6 separate regions of the Homo sapiens genome follow, and all the other regions are linked to region 3. The links are contacts of gene promoters, found by promoter capture Hi-C in human tissues and cell types (Jung and others, 2019). All regions are on one chromosome and are shown on one strand. The core of a region is centred on a gene start or on the middle of the fragment in contact, and the rest is flanking DNA. Distances in the headings are between cores, read along the strand shown.

Evidence for each region. The method cuts DNA at HindIII sites, captures the fragments that hold promoters and counts their contacts. A contact is called where the count stands out against the background at its distance.
Region 1: a fragment that was not itself captured here is called in contact with the fragment with the promoter of MYL10 in region 3 in 2 of the 25 tissues and cell types used here (heart left ventricle and mesendoderm cells).
Region 2: a contact is called between a fragment that was not itself captured here and the fragment with the promoter of MYL10 in region 3, in 2 of the 25 tissues and cell types used here (H1 embryonic stem cells and dorsolateral prefrontal cortex).
Region 4: a contact is called between a fragment that was not itself captured here and the fragment with the promoter of MYL10 in region 3, in 2 of the 25 tissues and cell types used here (dorsolateral prefrontal cortex and mesenchymal stem cells).
Region 5: a contact is called between a fragment that was not itself captured here and the fragment with the promoter of MYL10 in region 3, in 2 of the 25 tissues and cell types used here (heart right ventricle and spleen).
Region 6: a fragment that was not itself captured here is called in contact with the fragment with the promoter of MYL10 in region 3 in 2 of the 25 tissues and cell types used here (IMR-90 fibroblasts and spleen).

The regions. Positions count from the first base shown.
Region 1 is chr7:101,983,638-101,988,245 of GRCh38, forward strand. All of the region lies in intron 2 of CUX1 (cut like homeobox 1), which reads left to right. Among named protein-coding and RNA genes, the nearest start is that of CUX1, 170 kb to the left of the region's middle. RefSeq lists enhancers at 1,408-2,320, 1,645-1,804, 3,307-4,506 and a silencer at 4,452-4,608. The HindIII fragment of the contact is 3,801 bases long and covers 1,102-4,608 here.
Region 2 is chr7:101,944,787-101,949,249 of GRCh38, forward strand. All of the region lies in intron 2 of CUX1 (cut like homeobox 1), which reads left to right. Among named protein-coding and RNA genes, the nearest start is that of CUX1, 130 kb to the left of the region's middle. The HindIII fragment of the contact is 9,788 bases long and covers 1-4,463 here.
Region 3 is chr7:101,626,629-101,631,296 of GRCh38, forward strand. MYL10 (myosin light chain 10) reads right to left here and starts at 2,668. Exons shown (of 8, transcript NM_138403.5): 1 at 2,413-2,668. The coding sequence starts at 2,490. The HindIII fragment of the contact is 21,528 bases long and covers 1-4,043 here.
Region 4 is chr7:102,027,010-102,031,139 of GRCh38, forward strand. It overlaps CUX1 (cut like homeobox 1), which reads left to right. Exons shown (of 24, transcript NM_181552.4): 3 at 1,089-1,136. Among named protein-coding and RNA genes, the nearest start is that of CUX1, 210 kb to the left of the region's middle. RefSeq lists an enhancer at 3,652-3,701. The HindIII fragment of the contact is 5,342 bases long and covers 1-4,130 here.
Region 5 is chr7:102,007,150-102,011,734 of GRCh38, forward strand. All of the region lies in intron 2 of CUX1 (cut like homeobox 1), which reads left to right. Among named protein-coding and RNA genes, the nearest start is that of CUX1, 190 kb to the left of the region's middle. The HindIII fragment of the contact is 3,917 bases long and covers 600-4,516 here.
Region 6 is chr7:101,919,233-101,923,874 of GRCh38, forward strand. The region is part of intron 2 of CUX1 (cut like homeobox 1); the gene reads left to right. Among named protein-coding and RNA genes, the nearest start is that of CUX1, 100 kb to the left of the region's middle. The HindIII fragment of the contact is 7,119 bases long and covers 1-4,642 here.

The sequences.
Region 1 (4,608 bases), core at 1,752-4,251, 360 kb after region 3:
CCAGTCATGATGGAAGGCAAAGAGGACTTGACATATCACATGGGGAGAGAGAGAGTGAGAAGGGGGAGGTCCCAGACTCTTTTAAACAACCAGATCTCACAAGAACTCAGAGCAAGAATTCACTCATTACCAGGAGGTGGGCACCAAGCCATTCATGAGCAATCTGCCCTCATGGCCCAAACACCTCCCACCAGGCCCCACCTCCAACACTGGGGATCACATTTCAACATGAAATTTGGAGGGGACACTAGCCGGGTGTGGTGGCATGTACCTGTAATCTCAGTTACTCAGGAGGCTGAGGCAGGAAAATCGCTTGAACCCGGGAGGCAGAGGTTACAGTGAGCTGAGATTGTGCCACTGCACTACAGCCTGGGTGACAGAGCTGAGACTGCACCACTGCACTCCAGCCTGGGTGACAGAGCAAGACTCTGTCCCCCCCCAAAAAAAAAAAAATATATATATATATATATATATATATATATATATATATATACACACACACATATATATATGTGTGTGTGTGTGTGTGTGTGTGTGTTAGGGGACAGATGTCCAAAGTGTGTCAGTGTCCATCATGGCTATTAGACTGTCAGGCATTGAATATGGGCCCATGTTTTATTTCTCTTTATTTCCTCATTGTTGAACACATGGGTGTGCCTCCTATGGATGGGACCAGTGGCTGACTCACCTTTCCAAACTTGCATCCTGATGATCTGTAAAGTGTACCCACCCTGTAAGATTGTCGTGGGACAATGTAGATAAAAACCTCGATATACAGCCTAGTACACAAAGGACGGTGTAAATATTCTCTTCCGTGCTTCGTAGATTTCATTTTTGAACGCTCAGATTGTTCTCCGGCAAAAAAAAAAAAAAAAAAAAGTGCTTGCAGTGAGAACCTGCCCTGCACTCTCAGGCGAGCTGTTGGGTGCAAGTCCTGCAGGACTGAGCTCTGAAGGCCACCCACACCCTGGGTTGTGCTTGGATGATGGCATCCCTCCTGGCACAAGCGCAGATGGGCAGTCGGGAGGGAACATCAGCCTGGGAAAACTAGATGTCAGTGAAAAATGCTGGAGGTGGCTGGCGTTCGCAAAACTCAGTCGTAAAAAACAGCACGTTCTCAGTACAAAATGAGCACTGTTAAAAATAAACCGCGCAAGAAGAAATATATGAATACGAGGGCATGGCAAACAGTTTTGCAAGGTATTAAGATCGCATTAATCTTAATTTTATTATATATTAAAGTTTCTAACTTTTCAAATAATGCAGTTTTCGTTGTTTTAAAACGTCTGAGAATTATAGAGCTATTTGGTGTGGCTCTCAGGCAAGGACTCCTGCCATTTATTGGGGCCCTGGTTTTATTTAATAGCCAGATGAATGGAATAGTTAATAAAAGAAATATTGCTTTATTCCCTGACATTTATGTCCTTGGTTTCCAATAAAGAATTGAAATTATGAATAGTTGATGGTTTAAATTGATGTTTTATGTTGAACGCTAGCTATAATTTGCCCTCTGAGGATTGTAATACCGAGAAACAGATGGTTTCTCACAGTAACAAATTGCTATGTGTATACACGCTATAGTCTTGGCTTTCAGATACTTTCACCTTTGGTTCTGAGCTGCTCTGCAGACGGGAGAGGGGGGTCGTGCGGGGAGATCAGCCTCTGGAGGAAGGGGTTTCCTGCCCTGTGGGGGAGACACAGACAGGCCCTGGGGGTTCAGGGAAACTGGGGAAATGTAGCTAGCCTGGCATGGTGTCAGTACCTGGGGCCAAGAGGAGCGTTCTGTCCACGATCATGGTGGCAGCTGCAAGGTAGTGCCTGCAGGACTGCTGTGCATGTGGCTGTTTGACACCATGCCGTGCTGCAAACTCCACATCTTCCTAGAACAACCAGGAGAATGCCGTGGAGACTTGTTGCCAGATTTTTGCAGTTGCCCTGCAGTGGAGAGGTTAAGAGCTTGGACTCCGGAGCCAGGTGGCTGGGCCACTTTGGGGGAAGTTTCCCAAATTCCCACATCTCAGTTTCCTCATCTGTAAAATGTGCATAAGAGCAAAAGCCACCACCCTGTTTTGAGGATTCAGTAAAACCATCCCTCTAACACAACACTGAGCCCAGTGCCGGGTATGGTGTCAGTGTCTGCCAGGTAATGGTGTAACGAAAATTACAAAGCAGATTGATGTGGTGTGATTCTTGACGTTACAAAAGCTTCCTTGTTTTTCAGAGGGAGTTCCCACAGGGGTTCTTTAGACAGGCAGTGCATTAAGGTTGCAGAAATTTACTTTCCAGAAGGTTTTAAAGGAACGCAGCTTCAATGGCAGCAAGGTACCTGAAACAGGAACCCTTCCAGAGTGTCTCTGTTTTGTTGGCCTTTGAGACCTGCCGCTTCTGACTGCGGGGACCTGGGCTGCCCCAGATCTGTCTGTCAGAAGCCTGGAGTTGTTAAGCTGGTGAAATTTAACACCACTGTAAAGAGCCCCTCACAGACAATTCAGGAACGCTTACAGATAGAAACCGGTCCTGGTTTTAAGGTGTAATTTTGCACAAGTGTTAACAACAAGAGATGGAATTGGTAACGAGGCACTGGGGTCGGATCTTCATATTTTTGTCACATTTCATCGGTGAGATCAGTAGGTCTGTCTCCCCTAAGAGGAGTGTGGAATTTAGTGTTTTTCCTTTTTTGGGCTGTGACCCAAGAGCTTGTTTTCAAGATATGTATTTATTTAGAATACAAGGCTCTTTTCCATAAGGAAAGAAAATGTTACAGAAATGAGCTCTCAGTTAATTGAATAAGAAACCTGTTCGTCTCATGACTCACTTAAGAGAGAGCTGGCAGCCCTTCCTGAATGCCTATTACAGGCGGCACTGTGTCCTTTTACTTAATCTTCCCAAGGAGGATGAGGGTTGCAGGCTCCCCAGGCCCATCGCTGTGTTGGTGAGTGACAGAGCCTCTGTAAAGGAATGGGGATGAGCTCTGAGCCCTTTTCCCGTGGGCTCTGCTGCCTGGAGGCATGCCCTCCCTCGGCTTGTCTTCCAGCTCTCGCACAGAACCAAGTGTTAACTGGTGGTGGTTTGGAGACGAGAGGAAATGGACCGTAAGGACCATTGAGTTGGCATAAGGAGACCAGGGCCCAACTCCGGACCCTACCAGAGCAGAGTCTTTCTCCTCTGTAATGTGAGACTGTAGAGCTCTAGAATGTTCCTTCTCCAACTCAGAGCTGATGCTGTCAGGGCCCTGCTGCAGGGTCCTTCAGTGGCTCCCTGTGGCCTGAAGGACAAGCCAGCTCCTGCCCTGGAAGCCGTGGGGATGTGGTCCTAGCCTGTGCTCCTGCCTCGCTCACCTCCCTGGAACACCAGGGCCACCTCTCTGGGCTCCTCCTGTGCCCCAGTCTGCTCCTGCCACCCCTGTCCCACCGTGCTTCCTCCCTCCCTGTGCCTCAGCTCAGGCCTTGCCACCTGGAGCTCTGACCTCGTCCGTCTTGGAATGAGGCACCTGCATGGGTAGCCCATGGGTAGAGTTGCAGTCATCTGTTTGCTTTCGATTCACTCCCGCATCCCGACACAGTGCCCAGCACATCATCGATGAATGAGTGTGGGGCAAATGCTTGCACAGAAGTCCGTGCGTGAGCCACGACGGTAAACAGAGGCGCTCCTCTTGTCCTAATGTGGAACTCCCCAAGCTACGGGAAAGGGGTGCATATGGACCGCTGCTCACTCACGGCTCAGATACTTCCACGGTAATGGGTTGGCGACAGTGACTCAGCTTCTCATAGGTTCAAGCGGAAGAAATGGTGAGTCCTGGAGCACTGCTTGCTTTGAAGTCTGTTTCAGACTAGGGTCATGTTTCAAAGTTTTTGAATTTCTTTTTTATTCAAAAGACATTTGATGAGTTGACTATTGGGGGAACCTTGACCCCGGTGACTCCGTGGGACAGGGGATACCCCCGGGGTCCCTTATAAGCCTGCTGACTCACCGCCTGTTCTCCATCTTCTGTCTTCCACATTAGAAGCAAGGGCGGGGACATTGCCTTTCCCGGCCGCTGCGGTGTCCTGGCGCAGGGCACGTGCCTGAGGGCCCTTGGTCATCCGAGGGAGGACTGCACCAGGGACATCAGAGTGCTGATCTTACAGGAAACGGCAAATGAATGGAATTGGTCTGACTCCATATTACTCCTTACTTAGATGTAAAACAAATACACATGATTTTTCATCCTAGAAGAAAGTCTAAACGAACTCTTGACAAAAACAGCCAAGTTCAGAGAAAGCTGACTCTGTTGGTGTAAGAAGCGTTTTTTCAGGCTGGGCTGCTGGCTCATGCCTGTAATCTCAGCACTTTGGGAGGCCGAGGCAGGTGGATCACTTGAGGTCAGGAGTTCGAGACCAGCCTGGCCAACATGGGGAAACCTCGTCTCTACTAAAAATAGAAAAATTAGCTGGGCGTGGTGGCGCATGCCTGTAATCCCAGCTACTTGGGAGACTGAGGCAGGAGAATCACTTGAACCCGGGAGGCAGAGGTTGCAGTGAGCTGAGATCACGCACTGCACTCCAGCCTGGGCAACAGAGCGAGAATCTGTTTCAAAAAAAAAAAGAAGAAGAAGCTGTTCTCCGTGAG
Region 2 (4,463 bases), core at 861-3,360, 320 kb after region 3:
TCACCTCGGGCCACCCAGGGAGCAGGTGGGCACACCCAGGTTGCATCTGTCGCCACACTGGTGCAGGCCGTGTTGCACATCACTGCTGCCGGGTTGACCCCACTTGGTATGAAATGAGAGGGCCTCTTTTCTGAAGCAAGGTGTTGCAATTTAGCCTGGGGATGAAGCTGCTTCTTCCAATACCCAGAGTTAACACCAAATGCCACGAGAGTGAGAAAATAAGACAGCATTGCACTTTCCCAGAAATTGTCACCCCAGGGTGCCACCCCACCTCCCAAGCCCACTCTGGGACTCCTTCCACACACAGTCACCCACTGGTTACCAAGCCTGCGGGGCAGGTGCTAGGTGCGTGCTGGGAGTCAGGGGTGGATGAGGTCTTTTGCAGACAGGGCAGAGCGACCTCAGGGCAGAGCCATGAGGGCCTGTGTGCAGCGGCTTCCACCCAGGCAGGCTCCGGCTCTGCACCTTCAGCTACAGGATACACTTGCTTTCGACACCTCCACTGTCATTTAGACACAAAGCACACCACCACCGAAACCACTCCACAGAATGTAGAGTTTCTTGCCAGGAAAATAAAATAAATTAAAAGTCACTAATACTTTTATTTAAATTGCGAGTACATTTCCTCGCTGTTGCATTTTGTAATTTATACCTGGGAGTTAATTTATTGTTATTTACAGTTGCACAAGGACTCATGGAAATGCCTTGTGTATCGAGTGTTCTCATTATGCTGGGCACGGTCCCAGGTGCCGGGGAGGCAGGTCATAGTCCTGGCCTCGTGGAGCTGATGTTCTGAACGAGAGTTGAGTACCCAGTGGGACATCCTGAGAGCCCAATGCAGGTCCTGGTCAGGGCTGTGGGGACTGTGGGGAAGACCTGGATGGCAAGAGGAGTAGGGACAAGATCTACAGGATTCTGCATGCAGGGCTGCAGGCCAAGAGGGAGGAGTTGGGGGTTCTAGTCCGCTAGGTTCAGGGAGCCAGACGTGTCTGCTGTCCCAAACCTCCTGTGCTCAGGAACGTGGTTCTGATGAGCCTGTATCACCTTCCCTTCCCTCCACCTATGGGTCTGAGTGGCAGGAAGAGTTCTAGCTGTGTCAGCCAAGGCCGGGGACACCAGAGGCACAGGGCTTGGTTTAGGAGTCAAGACAAGGCATTTGCTTATTTAAAGAATGAGTTCTATGCACTTCCAATGAGTGGTTCTGTGGTCAGGAGGGCGGCACCTGGAGAGAGGTCAAGGTAGAATTGTGGATTTGGAAGGGTGGAGGATGGAAGGCCCCAGAGGAAACCAGCAGTCAGGGACTGAGGAGGTGATGGCATTCTCTAGTGTGATGTGTGGACAGACAGAGTAGAAGAACCAAAACCAGTCTTGGAGCGACAGGTGGGTCAGACGGCAGCTTTCTCTGGACCCGGGTCAGGAAGAGAAGGGTTTCCAGCAGGAGGGAAGATTGCGCTTAGGAAGAGAAGGGTTTGCTGGGCTCGATGGCTCACGCCTGTAATCCCAGCACTTTGGCAGGCCAAGGCATGTGGATCACCTGAGGTCAGGAGTTCATTTTGAGACCAACCTGGCCAACGTGGTGAAACCCTGTCTCTACTAAAAATACAAAAATTAGCCCAGCGTGGTGGTGTGCGTCTGTAATTCCAGCTACTTGGGAGGCTGAGGCAGGAGAATCACTTGAACCTGGGAGGTGGAGGTTGCAGTGAGCCAGGATCGTGCCACTGCACTCAAGTCTGTGTGACAAGAGCGAGACTCCGTCTCAAAAAAAAAAAAAAAAAAAAAGAGAGAAGGGTTTCCAGCAGGAGGGTCAGTGGCGGTGAAGCTTGCAGCTGGCAAATGTTGGGTTGGATTTGGGGTGGGGAGTGAGGCCAGGAGCTGGTGGAGGGGGGCAGAGGAAGGAAAGATCACTCACTGCTAAGCCTTTCAGATGAGTTCCCCGTGGTCATCAGAGGTAGGCCTTGCTGTCTTAATTTTACAAAAGATGAAAGCCACAGGAGGCATAGACTTGCTCAGAGAATTCATACTCAGTTCAGCAGACTCCAGTATTGATGCTCAACCCATGCTGCTGCTGGGGAGGGCTCAGGGGACAATGTTAAGTGAGACCAAGGAGGTGGCACCCCTGAACCAGTCTCTCCGTGAGCTCGGCGGTGAGAAAACAGTGCACAGGGAGAGGAGCCACAGAAGGCCCGGGATGTGTCACCCAGGGTTTCAGCTGGGAGGGGACAAAGCCGATTTGGGTGGGAGAGTGGAAGTAGGTCCCAAGAACTTTTATTTTAAATGTTTTGATGACAGATTTAAAACTTGAGTAACTTCATTGTAAAATGGCCAGGCGTGGTGGCTCACACTTGCAATCCCAGCACTTTAGGAGGCTGAGGCGGGAGGATCCCTTGAGCCCAGGAGTTGGGAGACCGGCCTTGGCAACATAGTGAGTGAGACCCTGTCTTGACAAAAAATTAAAGAATTAGCCAAGTGTGGTGACATGTGCCTGTAGTCTCAGCCACTTGGGAGGCTGAGGCAGGAGGATTGCTTGCACCCAGGAGCTCGAGGCTGCAGTGAGCCGTGATCATGCCACTGCACTCCAGCCTGAGCAAGAGCGAGACTCCGTCTCAAAAAAACAAAAACCGAAAAAACCACCTCACTATTCTAGGCCCGAGCCCGAGCTTAAATATTTACCCCATATCCAACCATAAGTTAATCCCGCACACACCTTCATCAGTTTCTTAAAGAAACTGGTGCCCCAGCACGGGGCATGCCAACGTATTAGACAGGCAACAACTTAGACATGGGGATGAAATGAATTCCATCTTAAATCTCAAAGTGCACAATACAGTCTCTAAAATTAAAGAAAAGAAAGATTTATTTCCAAAAAAGCCCACAGTGAAATAATTGTCTCAGTCTGTGGAGAGAGCTAATTTGGACAGAATCACATATTTTGATTCCTGGGATTTTTTTAAAAGGAATCTTTTAAAGCAGTAAATGAAATATTTTTGGATGTAGACAAAAATGACTTACTTAGCCATTCCACTGGCAATGTGGAAAGGATGAAGACCAATTTTGAGTTAGCAAGGACACCTTCAGAAAGTTCAGCTCCCAGGAATTGTTGACCCTAGCCATCCATGTCTGTATTTCCTGAGGACTATTGCTTACGGAATTAATTGGGACTAATTTCTGTTGCACCTGATCTCCAGCCAAAACACTCACATTTTGCCTCATCTGCAGAGACCTGGGCTGAGTTTTATCTCTGCGTCACTGCCGAGTTCCCTGCCCCCGCTCTGTTAACAGAGCTATAATTAACTCACAGGACGCCAGGCAGCCAGATTCGGCCAGGCGCCAAGAAATCAGCCCCAATTACTATATTCACATTGTCAGTAATGCCCACTTCACAGCTTCTGCTAATTTGAAATGGCAAGTTCCAACTTTCCATAGTAAAATTACCATTTTTGTCCTATTCTATTACGTGGTGATATTTGTCCATTATTTGGGCTCCGTAAACTTGGCATTATCACGACAATTAGTTGTTGAGGGTTTTCTAAAATGATTTGCAATTACATCTCTTAAGCGGAAAACTGTCTGCTCTGATGGAGTGAGAATCCATTCCCTCTGTGCCCTAGATCCACTTTAGGAATTGGCTTTTCATAGGGGAACGTGGTGCCTCGGGATTTTATAATAAAGTCGAGCCTTTAAAATAAGGGCTAGCCTTGGAACGTTGCCTGCTTTGTAGATTTCCAGTGTTCAAGTTGTCTGATTTCTTTATAAAGATGGAGAAGTGTCTCTGTCCCTCTGGGTCTCCGAGTTCCCTTGAGTCTGGGCCTCTGTATCTGGATCCCCTCAAGCCCTACTTTGTTGTAAGAGCCAAATTAGCCAGGGGCTACTGGTTGGTGGCTCTGCTGGGGGGGCATCACAGAGTCTCTCTTCTCTGACATTTGCTGACCTTCAACCCGCCCTGGTACAGGAGCACCCCATTGAGGTCCTCCGTTTTCCAGAGTCCTGTCCCTGAGGAATCACCTGCCTGAGTCCCTGAGCTTGGGACTGGCTGGCCTGATTGGGTTGTACATTTTGTTCTCTTTTCAGCAGAGAAATCTCAGGAGGCACCATGCCAGGCCACTGTGCCCCTGCAAGTGTGTCTGAGTATGGCCCAGGACCCTGCCCATCACTGGTCTGCAACAAGATAAGCACAGAAGTTCAGAGTAGGTGTCTAGAAATGTTCATAGCAATTTAACGTGACGGTGACATCCAAGTGGCATTTTAATTTTATTTTATAAAGATCTGAGTCCACAATGGGCTGGAAATGTAAAAATCTGTTGTGTGTTCTTCTCCCACAGATTGTTTGACAAACATTGGTCATTATTATTATTATTATTATTTTGAGACAGAGTCTCACTCTGTCGCCCAGGCTGGAGTGCAGTAGTGCGATCTCAGCTCACTGCAAGCTCCACCTCCTGGGTTCACGCCATTCTCCTGCCTCA
Region 3 (4,668 bases), core at 1,418-3,917:
CTCGGAGCTCCAGAGGTGCCACGCTGCCCCAAATACTGACCCCCGGCCCTCCCAGGGGGCCCCTGCCCTCAGAGCCACTGCCCCTGTGAAGCCCCCAGGCCCTGCCCACCTCGTCTCTCTCCACCCTCCTCTTCCTCATTCCCCAGCAGTCCCCACAAAGTCCAGGAAAGCAGAGGCTCAAATCAGGACCCACGTGGAGAGGAGTCCCGAGTGGGGCAGGTCCAAGCATGGGATCAAGAGCAAAGAGCAGGTCAGACCAGGGACAACATCAGATTAAGGTCAGGAAGGTCAGTGAGAGGCAGGATGAATTCAGGCAGGAGGTGAAGGTCAGAATCACACACAGAGTCAAGGTCACAGAACAAGGTCAAAGTTGAGAAATGAGGCCGGGCGCTGTGGCTCACGCCTGTAATCCCAGCACTCTGGGAGGCCGAAGCGGGTGAATCACTTGAGGTCAGGAGTTCGAGACCAACCTGGACAACATGGTGAAACCCCGTCTCTACCAAAAATACAAAAAAAAAAAAATAGCCATGTGTGGTGGCGGGCGCCTGTAATCCCAGTTACTCGGGAGGCTGAGACAGGAACCTCACTCGAAGCCAGGAGGTGGAGGTTGCAGTGAGCCGAGATCGAGCCACCGCACTCCAACCTGGGCAACAGAGTGAGATTCTGTCTAAAAAAGAAAAGGAATTGCGGAGTGAGGTCAGGGGCAGGGGCAGGGGCAGGGGCAGGGGTGGGAGGGAGGGGACCGCAGTGCTGAAGCCAAAGACACAACAGCCACAGGCCTGAGCTCCCCAGGGAGGAGGTGGAGGTGAGAGGAAGGTAGCCGTGGCAGAGCAGAACAACCCCAGCCTACCATGGTCTGGAGAGCTCCCTGAAGCTGCAGTTGGCCTGGGGATAGCTCAGAGATGGCCCTTAAATAGTGGTCCTCCCAGGGCCCCTGGCATGCACCGGGCCCAGTGTGGAAGGTGATCCATGACAGGACGGAGACCTCCCTGCCAGGCACCTGCCTTGGGCCATTCAGAGTGGATAGGGTTGGGGGGAATCCGTGGGCAAATACCACGGACGCAGGGACTGCCTAAGCCTCCAGGATCTCCGAGAGCCCTGGGCCAACTGTTTTCTCTAGAGCCAAGGGACCAAGACCCAGGAAGGGGCATTTGGCCAAGGACACAGAGTAAGTTGAGGCTGCCTACCCCAATGGGAAGACTTGGCCTTGAGCCGTCAGGGAGTGTTGCCCAGGGTGGGGCCACCCATGCTGGCTGGGACCCACTCAGACTGCAGTGTGGCCGGACCTCTGGAGCTGTGGGACTCTGGGTGGGACATCACCCTCTAGGAGGCTCAGCCATCTCATAGGAATAGGGGGGAGTGTATGAAACCCCCGGTCTGCTTATGGAGAGAGTTTCTGCACCAACCTGGCCCTCGGGGGCCCCTTCTACCAATATGCCTATTATCAGGGTGTCCATTAAGCACCCCCAGGCCAGGGGACCCCCTCAGGGCACTGAAATGCTCAATGAACAGAGAAAGCAACAGGACAAATAAAAGAAAAATGGGGTGGGCGCAGTGGCTCACGCCTGTAATCCCAGAGCTTTCGGAGGCCAAGAGGGAAGGATCGCTTCAGGCCAGGAGTTCAAGACCAGCCTGGGCAACATAGTGAGACCCCTATCTCTACAAAATATCAAAAAAATTAGCCGAGCATGGTGGTGTGCTCTTGTAGTCCCACCTACTCAGGAGGCTGAGGCAGGAGGATTGCTTGAGTCCAGGAGTTTGAGGCTGCAGTGATCTATGATTGTGCCACTGCACTCCAGCCTGGGCGACAGAGTGAGATATTGTCTCTTAAAAAAAAGAAAACAGAAAACTGGAGGTGACTCTGATGAGGAAGAACTGAAAAATGAGACCTCCATTCCACCCTGGCCTCACACACACACATCCATCCCCACCAGGCCTGGCCCAGCCCAAGAATTCTCTAGTAGATCTGCCAAACAGAGCCCACACCTGCCCTGGAAAGCCCCTCCTGTGTCTAGTGCAGCCCCAGCAGCCCCAGCTCGGCCTCAGAGGCTGCCACTGTCCATCTGGGGCCCGCCATATCTGAACAGCTGCCAGGGCCGGCAGTGCTGGGTTCAGGCAGTGAGCCCACGGGTCCCCAGGGGCTGGAGAGCTTAACTGTCCCTGGAGCTGGCCTCAGGCCTTCAGCCCCGGGTACAGCTGATCCCCTGCCTTTGGGGAAGGGAATATCATAATAATAATAAGAAGAGCAGCTAATATACAACACAGAAGGTCAGGCCATGTCTTAAAACACGTGTCCTCACATTCAATCCATATCCCATTTTCCAGATGAGGAAACTGAGGCACGCATGGGTTAAGTCACTCACCCAAGGCAGATAAGAAGTGGGGCCAGAGGCCAGGCACAGTGGCTCATACCTGTAATCCCAGCACTTTGGGAGGCCGAGGAGGGAGGATCACTTGAGGCCAGGAGTTTGAGACCAGCCTAAGCAACATGGTGAAACTCTGTTTCTACAAAAAAATTTTTTTTAATTAAAAAATTAGTCAGGCATAGTGGTGAAGTGAAAAAGTTCCCTTATCCCGTTCATAGGGCATGCGATGGGGGTGTGGCTCGCTTCTTCCATGCCCAGCTGCTCAAACCTCTAGGCGGACCATGCAGACAGGCAGGCTATGGGGCTCCGACCCCACGGCAGTGTCTAGGGGTGGATGCTTACAGCTCCTGAAGCCCCAGTGGGCGTGTGTTACAGGATGCTCTTTTACTTTTGCCATCTGTAGGTGGCTTGTGTTCATCAGCTCAGTTAGACCCTCTGCCTTATTGCAAGGACAAAGGGCTTTTTGTATCCTGGGGTTCTTGCCTTGGTGTACTGTGAAAATTGAATCACATGTGGGCTTGGAGAATGAGTGCGAGGTTTTATTGAGTGGTGGAAGTAGCTCTCAGCAGATGATGGGGAGCCAGAAGGGGGATGGAGTGGGAAGGTGATTTTTCCCCTGAAGTCAAGGTGCTCAGCAGCCAGACTCTCCTCTGACCATCCCCAGCCAAATTCCCCTGGGCATTTGTGTTATTCAGCCAGTCGATGGCCTGCCAGCATCTGCCAGTGCTGTCGGTGTGCTCTTCCGATCCTCTGCTCCTCTTGATGTCCAGCCACCTGTGTGTGTACCCACTGGGGTCTCAGGGTTTTCATAGGCACAGGATGGGCGGGGGGGCGGGGGGCGTGGTGGGCCAGGGTGGTCTTGGAAAATGTGACATTTGGGCATATAAACAGGAGTGCCTGTCCTCACCTAGGTCCGTGGGCACAGGCCCAAGGGTGGAGCCCTTGCCAGGGACCCTGCCTTTCTCCTCTCAGCACTTCCCTGTCCCCCCTCCTGTATCAGTGGCACATGCCTGCAGGCCCAGCTACTTAGGAGGCTGAGGTGGGAGGATCACATGAGCCCAGGAGGTTGAGGCTTCAATGAGCTGTGATTGCACCACTGCACTCCAGCCTGGACAACAGATCAAGGTCTCATTTCTAAAACAAAAAAAAAAAAAAAAAAAAAGAGAGAGAGAGAGGGAGGGCCAGGACAAGAGCCCCTCTTTCTAGTGTTTCCAGAAGGAAGCTTCCAAAAGGTTCTGCTCATCCAAACTCTCCCCTCCTCCTGCTCCCTCCCAGTCATCCCTGACTACAGCTATTTCTGATGTCCCTAAACTCCTGTGACTGAGTGCTCCTCCCAGAGCTGGGGCCAGGTCCAGCCATGATGCTGTGCAGCCCGCTTTCTGCAGCAGGAAACCGTGTGCCTCAGTTTCCCCGACAGGGCTGCTCTCCTGGTGTCCTGGCGTTCCTCTCCGGGGAGAAAAACCACACGTTCCACAGGTGTTCAACAAGCCAGGCGGAAAGGAGAACCCAGCTCTGGGGACGGGAGCCTGGATTCCAGTCCCAGCCGCCTGGACCTGCTACAGAAGGGGGCCTGTGTGACCGCGACAGTGGCTAGGGTGCAGGCTTTCCATGCCCGGTCTGTGAGCCTGGCCCTGGGGCCTCCTGGCTCTGGGCTTACAGAGTGGGTAGCAGACCTATAACTCCTGCTTCCTGCCTCTGGCTTCCTGCTGCCCTGAGGCCTCTGCAAGCAAGGGCTCTTGCCTCCGGGGAGCACGCCCAGGACCGTGGCAGGGGCTCCCAAAGGCCGGGGACAGGCCTGAGCAAGCGGAGAGCCCCCCCGCCTGCCCGGAGGAGGGGAAGCGGCGCTGGTGAATCACACCGGGCTTACAAATTAGTCTGAGTGGATTTCCTCCCCTGGCCTCCTCCTTCATAGGACCGGAGGCAGGAAGAACCGGTGAGAAATCTGGTAGAGACGTGAAAACCCCGGGGTGAGATGGTTGGGAGATGTTTGTTCCTGGGGGGCGGGAAGTGTGAGGGTGCAGTGGCCTTGAGAAGGGGGAGCCGTGAGTTCTGCACCCACAGTGGGACCCTCAGTTTTCCCCATCTGAGAAATGGTGCCAGCAGCCAGGACCCCTTGAGGCTGCCATCGGGAAGCTTAGTGCCATTGGAAGGAGGTGGGCTTTGGGGTCATCGGCCTGGGGTTTGGAGGGCAGAGCCTTCCCCTGTCCCCCTTTCCCCCTGTGTAGATGGAGTCCTTGACAGAACTTGCAGCCTCTCCAAGCTGCAGCCCCCTCACCCAGGTGACACTGCAATGAGTCAGTTG
Region 4 (4,130 bases), core at 1,262-3,761, 400 kb after region 3:
GTGGCATGGGATAAAATTTATTGTGACTCTGTCAGATGTGGATTCAAAACAGGCTGTATCTCCGACTTAACAGTGCATTAAAATGGCAGCTAGGGCCGGCCATGGTGGCTCATGCCTGTAATCCCAGCACTTTGGGAGATGAAGGTGGGCGGATCACCTGAGATTAGGAGTTCCAGACCACCTTGGCCAACATGGCAAAAACCCATCTCTACTACAAATACAAACATTAGCCGGGCGCCTGTAGTCCCACTTACTCGGGAGGCTGAGGTGAGAGAATCACTCAAACCCAGAAGGCAGAGGTTGCAGTGAGCTGAGATCTTGCCACTGCACTCCAGATTAGGCGACAGAGCGAGACTCCATCTCAAAAAAAAAGAAGAGGCAGCTAAAATACAGTGCAGTGGCCCAGGTCCATTTCAGATAGAAACAGCCAGGCAAACCCCCCATTCTAGTCTATTTTATTCTAAGCAGATTATCTCACTTAGACTGACATCAGCAAAAGCTTTAGTCTGTAGCACATTCAAAATGAGGTATATGTGACCAGGAGTTAGTAGAAATAAAACATCGTTGTAGGCCAGGTGCGGTGGCTCACACCTGTAATCCCAGCACTTTGGGATGCTAGGGTGGGCACATCTCTTAAGCCCAGGAGTTTGACCCTCGCCTGGACGACATGATGAAACCCTGTCTCTACAAAAAAATACAAAAATTAACCAGGCATGGTGGCGTACGCCTGTAGTCTCAGCTACTTGGTAGGCTGAGGTGGGAGGATGACTCTAGCCCAGGAGGCAGAGGTTGCAGTGAGCCAGGGTTGTGCCACTGTGCTCCAGCCTGGTCAACAGAATGAGACTCTGTCTTCAACAACAAGAACAACAAAGAACCACCTCGTTGTATTCTTAAATAAGTTTAAATCCTGAAGCGCCAGTTGGCGTTATTGATGTTTTAGGAGTGCAGGAATGGGTGAGGTCCCAGGCTTGCTTTAGATAGTGATAATTAGCACTGACTGCCACGCTGTTTTTAGGAGGCCTTAACCAATGTTTCCCTTCTTTCTCCTTCTCAAATGGCTGCTTCCTGACCTCCGCCTCCTGCTCCAGGATTTGCGCAAGCAGGTAGCGCCGCTGCTGAAGAGTTTCCAAGGAGAGGTAAGCTTTTCTATTCATTTTCTATCCTGAGCCACCCTTCGTGGCTAATTGGTCTTTTTATTCACATTAAAGAAATGCTCCGGGCAAAAGGTGCTGCCCAGATGGTGCCTTCCCGGCTGCTCCGACCCAGCGTCATGCAGATTTTGCGCTCTGTGATGTGATTTTCCATTGGGTCCTTGGTGAAAGCCCTCCTGGAAAAGGAAGCTATGCTCAGAATACACAGAGCTGTGGTGGATTGCCAGCAGAAGTGCCCCGTGTGTGGTTGCAACAGGCAGGTTGTTGGCGCTACGGCCTTCAGGAGCCCATGCATCCCCTCTAGGAAGTCGCCTTGTCCCCCTGAGCTGGTCTGGGGCTGCCACTGCCATGAGTGTGTGCCATAAGTGTGGTGCTTTGCTGAGAGGCTGGCGGGGGCACAGGGAGGCCACTTGATCACAGGCTTGAAACACAGAGCATCTAGCAGAAGCCACGAGGAGCAAGCCTAGGCTCAGTAGAAGGAAGTGGTTTCTAACGGATCCTTCCAGAGAAGGACGGAGCCATCTGGCAGACGGCACGTGGGTGGCAAGTCACCTGGGACATCCGCCCTGGCTACCTGTTAGCGGGAACAGCAGCCATAGAGGGGACTGGGCTCCACGTGAGTGACACTCTTTGCCAGCCCTTTGTGTGAAGATTCAGTGATGTTTAGAAAACCAGAAATTATATTATTCTTGCGGATTTATTGAATCTCACCTCTTTAGCTTCTCCCGACGGAAAAACAGAAAGTGGAATCATAGCAGGCTGATAAGGAAAGGAAACGAGACATTTCCAAAGCCCCTGAAAGAGCCCATATTGGTACAGTCTTAGGGATTTTTTTTTTTTTTTTTTTTTGGCGACAGAGTCTTGCCCTGTCACTCAGGCTACAGTCCAGTGGTGCAATCTAGTCTCACTGCAACCTCCGTCTCCCAGGTTCAAGTGATTCTCCTGTCTCAGCCTCCCCAGCAAATGAGATTGCAGGTGTGCACCACCACACCCAGCTAATTTCTCTATTTTTAGTAGAGATGCAGTTTCACCATGTTGGCCAGGCTGGTCTCGATCTCCTGACCTCAGGTGATCCACCTGCTTTGACCTCCCAAAGTGCTGGGATTACAGATGTGAGCCACTGTGCCTGGCAGGGATTTTATTTTCTTGCAACTGCTAAGTCACAGGGAACACATGGGGGAAGGGACAGGAGAGATATGGCCGTGAGATACAGGAGAGATATGGCCGTGAGATACAGTAGGTTCCTCTTGGGACACAGGTGATGTGGGCCTTATATATGGAAGGCTGGGTTCCTGGTCCCAGAGCTCTAGAGCAAGTTGTCGGGCTTCCATTTGGGAAATTCATCAACTGGGAGCGAGAGCAGGGAGTGAGTGAATGAAGGAGGCCAGGGCGATTGTAGCCAAAGACAGAGAGGCGATTTCAGGACATCAAAAGGGACCAGCGTAGAAAGAAGACACAGCAGTTGGTGATGGCTGGAAATTTTCGAGGGCAGAACAGTACCCCTCTCTTCTTATGATCTTCTTCCTGCCTCATTCAGCCCCCATGCACGTAGCTTGGTCCGGCCAGCAGGACACCTGCATCCCAGGGCTTGGATGGACTTGAACAGTCTTTTTCTCAGAACTTCATCTCCAAGCCCGTAGTTGATGAGTGAGGCTGTTACCTGACACCTACCCACATTTGATCTTACCTGTTCTGTTACCTGTCCAGCGGCTTTTGGGAGACCCACTGGCTTCCTAGTTCTCTCGCTCAAAGAGTTCAGTGTGCTTTCTAGGTGTTTGCTTGTTTTTCTTTCTTATTGAAAAATTTCAAAGCTGTGTAAAAATGGAAAGATTAGTACAGTGAATACCTGTATGCTTTTTTTTTTTTTTGAGACAGATTTTCACTCTTGTTGCCCAGGCTGGAGTGCAATGGCACAATCTCAGCTCGCTGCAACCTCCGCCTCCTGGATTTAAGCAATTCTCCTGCCTCAGCCTCCCAAGTAGCTGGGATTACAGGCATGTGCCACCACGCTCAGCTGAGTTTTGTATTTTTAGTAGAGACGGGGTTTCATCATACTGGTCAGGCTGGTCTCTCATTCCTGACCTCAGGTGATCCGCCCGCTTCGACCTCCCAAAGTGCTGGGATTACAGGCGTGAGCCACTGCGCCCGGCCCACCTATATGCTCTTTACCCAGATCCACAGTTGCTAACATTTCACCCCATGTACCTCCCCCCTCCCCTCCCCGCCCACCACTTTTGCTGAACATTCAGAAGTAAGTTGCAGAAGCAGGCACTGTGTCCCTCAAACACACGTGGAAGGCTCCCGAAGTTAAGGAATTATTAGCATTCTCCTACATTACCACAATAACCACAAATATCACACCTGGGAAAATTCACAGTAATTCCAGGTCATCTCATATTTGATCCAAAATCAAATTTTTCCAATTATCCCCAAGATGTCTTTTATAACGGCCCTCCTCGCAACTGAGGTCCAGTCAGGTTCACACATTACATTTGGAAATCTGTCTATCTAATTTTCTATTTTAAAAAGTGTTTTTTTTTTTTGAGACAGGGTCTCGCTCGGTAACCCAGGCTGCAGTGCAGTGGTGCCATCATGGTTCACTGCAGCCTCCACCTCCTGGGCTCAGCAATCTTCTTGCCTTAGCACTCCCCTGCCCCCACCGCCAGATAGCTGGGACTATACATGTGCACCACCACATCCGGCTAATTTATTTTTATTTTTAGTAGAGACGAGGTTTCAATACATTGCCCAGGCTTGTATCGACATCCCGGGCTCAAGCCATCCTCCCACCTTGGCTTCCCAGAGTGCCTTGATTACAGACATGAGCCACTGTACCCGGCCCCTGCATTATCTCTTTTAATGTAGGACATCCTCTCCATCTCCATCACCTTCATTTCTTTTTATTTTTATTTTTTCTAGACAGGGTCTTGCTCTGTCCCCCAGGCTGGGATGAAGTGGCACAATCTCAGCTCACCACAA
Region 5 (4,585 bases), core at 1,308-3,807, 380 kb after region 3:
TTGAATTTTTGAGACAGGGTCTCGCTCTGTAGCGCAGGCTGGAGTGCAGGGGCGCGATCCTGGCTCACTGCAGCCTCGGCCTCCTGTACCTAAGCCATGGCCCTCTCTGACTTTGAACCCCTCAGTTCATTCTCAGATCAGACCACTCACTCACTGAGGCCCTCGGCTCTTCCACAGGTCTCAGCCTTTTGCCCCTTATAGTTTTTAGTTGTTGCAGCCTTTCTGTTCTCTTCCCCTCTCCTGTTAAGGGGACATTTCCAAGCACCCTGGCCACAGAACCTCCTCACCTCCCACCCTCCGCCCCTGGGTGCCAGGGCCTGGGTTCTCTGTGGAAGTCCTGCCAGCTCCGGGTATTTCCCACGTGGATTTCTCATCATCTTCACCACCAGATCAGTTCCTGGCCTGCACCCCTCCTGTCTGGCTTGTGGCAGGGGCTGCCACCCTCACCTGGGCCCTAAACTTCTACAAAGCCCCACTCTCTCCTGTTCCCGTCAGTCTGCTTGCCAAGTCCAGTTTATTTTAATTCTGGGGAACGTTGTCTTCCTCCTCCCCCCTCCCTCGCCACCACCCACCTCTGGTGTTTTTTTTGTTTTGTTTTGTTTTGTTTTTTTTGAGATAGAGTCTCACTCTTGTCACCCAGGCTGGAGTGCAGTGGTGCGATCTCGGCTCACTGCAACCTCCGCCTCCTGGGTTCAAGCGATTCTACTGTCTCAGCCTCCTGAGTAGCTGGGACTACAGGCACCCGCCACCACACCCGGCTAATTTTTGTATTTTTAGTAGAGGCAAGGTTTCACCATGTTGGTCAGGCTGGTCTCGAACTCCTGACCTCAGGTGATCTACCTGCCTTGGCCTCCCAAAGTGCTGGGATTACAGGCACCACTTCTGGTTCTGTTACCTTCGTCCAAACTTGTATTTCCCAGCTGGTATCTTCCATCTCCAGGCTTTCCCCTCTGGCCTGTCCTTTAGCAGGAGTCACCTTCCTGAAGCAGACCCTGGTCTGGTCTCTGCGTACTACCTTTTGCATGGTTGGTGGCCGTCCACCCGCCTCTCAGGCCATGTCTGGGTTCTTCTAGGGGCTTCGGTGATCTGGGAGCCTGTCCCCGCTGGCCCCCTCTCCCATGTCTTACTCCATCAGCTTCACCTTGTTTGTATCTCTGGATCTCCTCTTTTTTCCTTCTGTTTGTATCTTGTCTCTTTCTAGAAAGCCCCCCCACCTCTACTCGCCCCTCTGTGGCAAATATCACCCAATTCAGGTGCCCCCAGCCCAGCAAAGAGGGATTTTCATTCCTTGGGCCCCCGTTGTAGGCTAGCTGCGCCTGTCTTTCGGCACATTTCATTTCCTGCCTGGTATTTCGGTCGTGTGCGTGTCTTTATTCTCCTCGTGTAATCCCTGAGGTGCAGAGTGCGTGTCTGTCCTCCTCTGCCCTCTCTAGAGATTGGGATATGACCAGTGTTCAGCCCCCAACCAAAAGAGCCTAAGAACCCCAGGTCCCCAGCCTGTCCTGCTCTGCTGGGGGCCCACATGCCTGGGGACAAGGCACCTTTCCTTCCCTGACCTTGACTAGGACAGGACATGGGGTAGGGCCTGAACATTGAGCAATTGTCAAACTGCCTACTTACGATGAACAAAATAGCTTTTCAGGAGGCGAGACCACAGCACAGTCATGGTGAATCCTGATGCGCACCCCAGGTCTTTTATCAGGATTTTTGTTTTTCCTGGTGGGCACAGATGTAGGTGGAGCAGATCAGAGGCCTCTCAGGTTCTTGATCACTCATGGCAGTTCAGGCCTGCCAGTAGTGAGGTCAGAGATCCATACAGCAGGGGAGAGAAGGGAGGTACAGGGAACCCTCGGCCCCGCGTGCTCCAGCAGGTCTGCATGATTAACCTGAATTGCAGTGTTCAGAGGCTCGGCCTGCCAGCCACAGCGGTTCCAGATGAAATGCAGCTTAGAAGGCAGCATGGTGTAGTAGCTTTGGCGCCAGCCGCACCCAGAGTTTGGATTGTAGCCAGATGGCCTCAGGTGCAATGTATAACCTCTGGGAATTCCAGATTTCCTATTTACACGACAGGGATGATTCCATACCTGAAGGGCTGTTTGGAAGCATCTAGAAGCAAGCACAGTGGAGTGGCTGTCATGACGCTGACCGCACAAATGATGGTGTTAGGATCCCTCCACGGATGTGGCCAGGTGACACCCCTCACCTAGGCCGCACAGCACCCTAATGTACACACTGAAGAAAGGCTGCGTGGGGCTGCAGAGCGGCTCATTTCTAAGAAGGCCAAAGAAATTGCTCAGTCCAGACCAGGGAACCCAGTTTCTCTTTTAGAGGTGGGATCTTGCTATGTTGCTCAGGCTGGTCTCGAACTCCTGACCTCAAGTGATCCTCCCGCCTTGGCCTCCCAAAGTGTTGAGATTCCAGGCATGAACCACTGCACCCAACCTGTAGCCTCTTTCTACAAGTAAAATAATTCAGGTGAGTTCAGGCCCACGCCAGGTCTTAAACCCTGGCCCTCTGCCCATCTTCCAGCCTCCACCCCTTCTCTCTCCTTACAGAATCTTCTGTTCTTCTGCACACCAGCGTGGCAGACAGGTTGGCCAAGGGCCTTGGACTTCTTTATCTCTAGTACATGTTCCTGTAAATTTAAACCTCCTCAGTTGGGTAAAAGCTTTGGAATTACTAACATTCCTTTTGTGCTGCCTAACGTTCTTGCCATTTAAAAGATTAGCAGGCATAATTTCAGTGAGCCTTCGTGACTGGCGTGCCTCACTTAGCTTAATCCCTGGTTGGTACATGTTAAAACCTATAAAGACAGCCTCTCCAGCACACATGGGGAGCTTGAAAATGAAAGAAAGGTTGCTCTGACCTCTCAGAACTGCGGACTTCTTAAAAAAGAAAGAGTGAGGTGGGCGGCCTCCCTTGCTGCCGGTGCTAGATTCCATGATATGAAACAGCAAGGGTGCAGCTGGGTGCGGTGGCTCATGCCTGTAATCCCAGCACTTCGGAGGCGGGGGTGGGCAGATCACCTGAGGTCAGGAGTTCGAGACCAGCCTGGCCAACATGGTGAAACCCCGTCTCTACTAAATAATACAAAAATTAGCCAGGCATGGTGGTGAGTGCCTGTAGCCCCAGCTACTCAGGAGGCTGAAGCAGGAGAATCACTTGAACCCAGAGGTGGAGGTTGCAGTGAGCTGAGATCACGCCACTGTACTCCAGCCTGGGCAACAGAACAAGAAGACTCTGTCTCAAAAAAAAAAAAAAAAAAAAACTGACTTGGATATGTGCTTACATAAGAAAGGGAGATTCACCAAGTGAACCATGCATAGCATCTCTTAAATCTGTATCATGGAATTCGTGATTGGGCCTCTCTTTCATATCAGGCAACATACATGTGATGTACATACCTGTAGCTTCCGGGAAAGGGAAGGAAGTAGAGATGACATTGTCTGTTACTCGTTTGTATGTGTGTGTGCGTATTTAAGTAAATATGTGTGTGCATAGGGACATGTCACATGCATGTGTGGCACATTTATAGGATGAAGAGGTGTCTAAAAGACATTGAGGAAACTCAGTGAAGGAGTTCTGCCGGCGGGCGTGAGGACCACGCTAAAAGATGCCGGTTGTGCTTTGTGTCTAAGCTGAAAGCATGGATATCATTTTATAAAAGTAAAATTATATTGGCCAGGCGTGGTGGCTCATGCCTGTAGTCCCAGCACATTGGGAGGCCGAGGTGGGCGGATCACCTGAGGTCGAGAGTGTGAGACCAGCCTGACCAACATGGAGAAACCCCCATCTCTACTAAAAATACAAAAAATTAGCCAGGCATGGTGGCACATGCCTGTAATCCCAGCTACTCAGGAGGCTGAAGCAGGAGAATCACTTGAACCTGGGAGGCGGAGGTTGCAGTGAGCCAAGATCATGCCATTGCACTCCAGCCTGGGCAACAAGAGCAAAACTCCATCTCAGAAAAATAAAAAAAAAAAGTAAAATTATATTGTTATTGACGGTCTCTTTGTTCGAGTAAGCCGTCTCTGGATATATCATTGTATGGTGTATTCATGCCAAGGATTTGGTGTGAGTCTTGAAGCATTCACACCAAATTGTGGCCAAGCCCAGCACTGAGAGCGCAGTGGGCGTTCGGAGGACACGTTTGGATTTTGTGATCCTCTGCCTGGCAGGAGCTGCTCAGCCCCTACAGCCCCTTCCCCGAGACCACCAATGCGTTTCTCTTCAGTTTTGCTATTCTCATACGCTGGTGATGGGATTTTGGAGACAAACATGGTCTCTTCTGCTTGCTTGCTTGCTTATTTATTTATTTTTCCTCCCAGGTTCAAGTGATTCTCCTGCCTCAGCCTCCCAAGTAGCTGGGATTACAGGTGTGCGCCACCATGCCCAGCTAATTTTGTGTTTTTAGTAGAGACGGGTTTCACCGTGTTGGCCAGGCTGGTCTTGAACTCCTGACCTCAGGTGACCTGCCCACCTTGGCCTCCCAAAGTGCTGAGATTACAGACATGAGCCACCGCGCCTGGCCTTCTGCCTTTTTTGGTGAACTCCCTGTGGGTGGGAGAACTACCCGGTGGAGTCG
Region 6 (4,642 bases), core at 1-2,500, 290 kb after region 3:
TGTGTGTGTAGATAGCACATGTGTGGAGCCTCAGCTCAGTGCCTGGCCTGTGTCCCAAGGGGACACTGGGTCACCGTTTGTTTGGGGTCTCAGTCTTGAGGAGCCACCACTGCCCTGACACTGGTTGCTCCTCTGGCCACACCGCAGGATTGATTACTAACCGTGGAGGTGACGTCGGGTTGTTGCATGTGTAGAAACGAGGCTTGCTTAGAGCTTTCGCCCGTTGGGTAGGACAGCCTGGCTTACCGGGAGGAGGGTATCCTCTTCCCTATGGATGCAGCCCACGATCCCCATGGCAACATACCTTCCAGGGCACAGCGTGGCAGAGCCAGGGCTGGTGGTGTTCCTGCTGGTGTGACACCAAGGGTGTTGATCTTGATGGAAACGCCCACGTCTCTCTTTGTTCTGGGAAAGAAGGAAAGGTTTCCTGGTGTCTGATGAATGTCTAATGTGTTCCACAGGGAGGATTAGGCACCCGCGAGGGTTCAGTGGGGAGTAAAGTTTGTCTGCCATCGGAGATTTCACCTTCTAGACTGGCCCTTCCCAGATGTCACTGGGAAAAGCTCTAGTCCAGGAGGGAAAAGGTGGGCTGTGACGGGGAGGTGGCCAGGGAGGGGTGCTGTGTGGTGGCTGGGACTCTGACAGGCGGGAGAAGCCACAGGAACATCAGGAGGTGAGCGCCAGGATGGCTGGAGCCTTGAAGGGTTTTTCTGGGGACAGGATCCTGCTCTGTCACCCAGGCTGGAGCGCAGCGGCACGATCACAGCTCACTACAGCCTCCAACTCCTGGGCTCAAGTGATCCCTCCGTCTCAGTGTCCCGAGTAGCTGGGATTACAGGAACGTGGCACCACAGTGCCTGGCTAGTATATTTTATTTTATTTTATTTTTATGTGTTTTTTTTTTTTTCTTCAAGTGTCTTGCTCTGTTGCCCAGGCTGGAGTGCAGTAGCACGATCTTGGCTCACTGCAACTTCCACCTTCTGTGTTCAAGCAGTTCTTCTGCCTCAGCCTCCCGAGTAGCTGGGATTACAGGCATGCGCCACCACACCCAGCTAATTTTTTTGTATTTTTAGTAGAGGTGAGGTTTCACCATGTTGCCCAGGCTGGTCTTGAACTCCTGACCTTGTGATCCACCCGCCTCAGCCTCCCAAAATGCTGGGATTACAGGTGTAAGCCACCGCGCCTGGCCGTAGTTTTTAAATTTTCTGTAGAAACAGAGCCTTTTGCTGTTGCCCAGGCTAGTCTCAAACTCCTGCGCTCAAGCAGGGTCCTCCCACTTTGGCCTCCCAAAGTGCTAGGATTACAGGCACGAGCCACTGCGCCCAGTTGAAGGTTTTCTGTTTAGAATTAGTTTTTTAAAGTTTCAGTTTTATATCATTAGATTAATATATTTGCCATCATATGATATTGTGTCTTTTTAATCCAGAAATTGTAGTTAATTTGCAGAAGATTGCAGTTACTCTGCAGATAAAATTGTATACGTTTTCTTTGAATCTACAAAAAGAGTCCCTTTGAAAGAAAAACATTTTTAAATGTTCTAACTGAACATCCATTCCCTATTGAATTAAGAATCAATCGTGGAACATAATAGGCGGTGGAGTGTTTCTAGGGTATATTGCTTTCTATATTTTTGTTTTTTTTGGAATATAGTGGCACAATCATAGCTTACTGTGGCCTCGATGTCCTGAGCTCAGGCGATCCTCTCCTTATAGCCTCCAGAGTAGCTGGGACTATAGGTGCGTGCCACCACACCCTGCTAATTTTATGTTTTGAAGAGACCGGGTCTCACTTTGTTGCCCAGGCTGGTGTCAGACTCCTGGGCTCAAGCTAAATCACCCACCTTGGCTTCCCAAAGTGTCGGGATTACAGGTGTGAGCCACTGCGCCCAGCTCTGATTTTTGTATTTCTTACTTAAGGCGACATACTTAGTAGCTGTGCGTCTTGGGGCAGATACCTCCCAAAGCCCCAGTTCTGTCATCTATAAATAATGTAACAACAGGGCCCCGCTCGCAGGGTTGCTGTGTGCACATATGTGTGTGTACGTACCCATGTGCCTGTACGAGAAGGGCTGCGCACAGGCCTGTCCCTAGAGTTTAGCTTATGTTCGTTATTAGCATTAACCTGGGAATACTCACCGTGTAACTCATGAGATACAGTGGATTTCTGTTCCTCAGAGCTAGCTTGGGGAATTTCTATGTTTTATTTTATTTTATTTATTTATTTATTTATTTATTTACTTATTTATGAGGCGGAGTTTCACTCTTGATACCCAGGCTGGACTGCAGTGGCGCCATCTCTGCTCACTGCAACCTCCACCTCCCAGGTTCAAGTGATTGTCTTGCCTTAGCCTTCTGAGTAGCTGGAATTACACGTACCCGTCACCATGCCCGGCTAATTTTTTGTATTTTTAGTAGAGACGGAGTTCCACCATGTTGGCCAGGCTGGTCTTGAACTCCTGACTTCAGGTGATCCACCCGCCTCGGCCTCCCGAAGTGCCAAGTGGCATGAGTCACCACACCCGGCCTTAGCTCGGGCAACTTTAAAAAAAAAATAACAACAAATATAGGTAGTTTCAGCTTAAAGTGTTTCAAAAGTTGGTTTGTGGCCAGACACAGTGGCTTACGCCTGTAATCCCAGTGCTTTGGGAGGCTGAGGTGGGAGGATCGCTTCAGACCAGGAGTTTGAGACCATCCTGGGCAACATAGTGAGATTCCATCTCTACAAAAAAATCAAAAGATTAGCCAGGATGGTGGTGTACACTTGTAGTCCCAGCTACTTGGGAGGCCGAGGTGGGAGGATGGCTTGAGCCCAGGAGGTTGAGGCTGCAGTGAGCCATGATCATACCACTGCACTCCAGCCTGGGCAACAAAGTGAGATCCTGTCTCAAAAAAAAAAAATTGGTTTGTAATAACAATTAATCATCTTACAAATATTTATTGAACACCTTCCATGTGCCAGACAGTTTGGCCCTGGGAATAAAACCCTATCTCCATTCTTTAAAAAGTTTCTTATCTTTCTTAGTAAGCAAATAGAACCCAATGGCAGAGCGTGTTAAGTGCTAGGATAGAATGACTGGAATCTTCTGACTGTAGACTTTCCCCACAGAAACACTCTTATGTCAGTGGTGATAAAGTTCTCTGGATAAGCCACATATGGCTCAGTAACCCTTTTTATAGATAAACAGTTCTGCTTTTTGAGCCTTGGTTCTTAACCTTTAAAATATCCATGAAAGTTGAGGACCTACGCACCTGGGAAATGCACGTTTGCAGTTTCTGGGGGGCTCCCAGACACTCATCCATGCAGCCTTAGTTTAGAACACCAGTTCTCTGGGCCCATAGTCCCAGTTTCAGCTCACCATTCCAGGAGAACCAGTGGGTCACCTCTACTCTCCTTCTCCTCCTTGTGTCCTGGGGTGGAAGGGGATGAAGGAGGGAGGAGGGGGGATTCTAGAGCTTTGGGGTGGGTGACAGATGAGTACCAAGGCCTGACCGCTGGGCAGGGACAGGGTGTGCCTGGCCTTGGGCTGGGTGCTGGGGAGTGGGAGATGGGTGAAGGAGCAAGGCCACCTGATGTGACAAGGGGCTCCACGGGCTGGCAGCAGGGGCAGCACCTCTGCACTGGGCTGGCCACAGCATGTCAGGAGGGAGCAGCAGCAGCTATCTGGAAGCCTGGTGGTGTTAGAATCATGTATGTGAGCAGTGGAGGCTGAAAGCCTAGCTCTCGCAAACCCCAGAAAGTGTCTCTTAGCTTTTCCGTTTGCCGTTTGCTTTTCCATGGCTTTGATCGCGGTCAAACTCCGATTTCCCGCGTGTGTGATTCCAGAGTTCTTCTGGAGGCGAGGTTACGGGAGGTCTGCAGCATGTCTGACCTGCAGCCCCGGCTCACTGGCCTGGCTGTAGGGAGTTAGTGGATGGAGAGTGGCTGGACAGTTTGGAGACCAGGTAACCCAGCGTGGGGTCCTCCCTGGAGAAACCCCCAGTGCTCCTGCGACATCGGCCTGGCTTCAGGGCTCTGCTATTTGAATGTGATGCTCAACTCTCCAATAAATGGTCGTCTGTGTTAGGCTTGCTTCCAGAAAGAGCTCAGGGATGGTTTTGGGTTTTGTTCTGCTTCTTTTCAATATGGGAGGAACCTTCTCTGATGGGAGAAAAGAGAGGAGGAGAACCACATTCCTGAGATGCTGTGATTTTATCATGAAACCATCCCCAGCCCTCATCCTGGTGACGTCAGTCGGCCCAGTCCTACTCCAGAACGCTTCTTGGGTGTCTGTCTGCAGGACTTTGCTCAGTTAATTTTTGTCTCCTCTAAAACAGACCCCGTTGCTCTGGGAGGAGAGCCGAGCTGCGGCTCAGGGGCCGTCACTGGTCATTTTTGCCCTGATGTATTTTTGCCTCTACATTTCTTGATCTCTGGAACGTTAATCCCAACGATGCCTGGTCTGCGGTGCTCACAGTCTGTGTCTGTGCTTTCTACACCTGTCCTGCTCAGATGCACATGATGTCACACCCAGGTCTCCATCCTGGCTCTTGTTGGCTGCGGCGGCAGCCCTGACTGTCGGAGACGCCTGGCTCAGCATGCCCACCTTGCAACAGGGAGCACCCTGTGCTGCTCACAGAACTGCCCATCCACTTTCTTTTCCTTT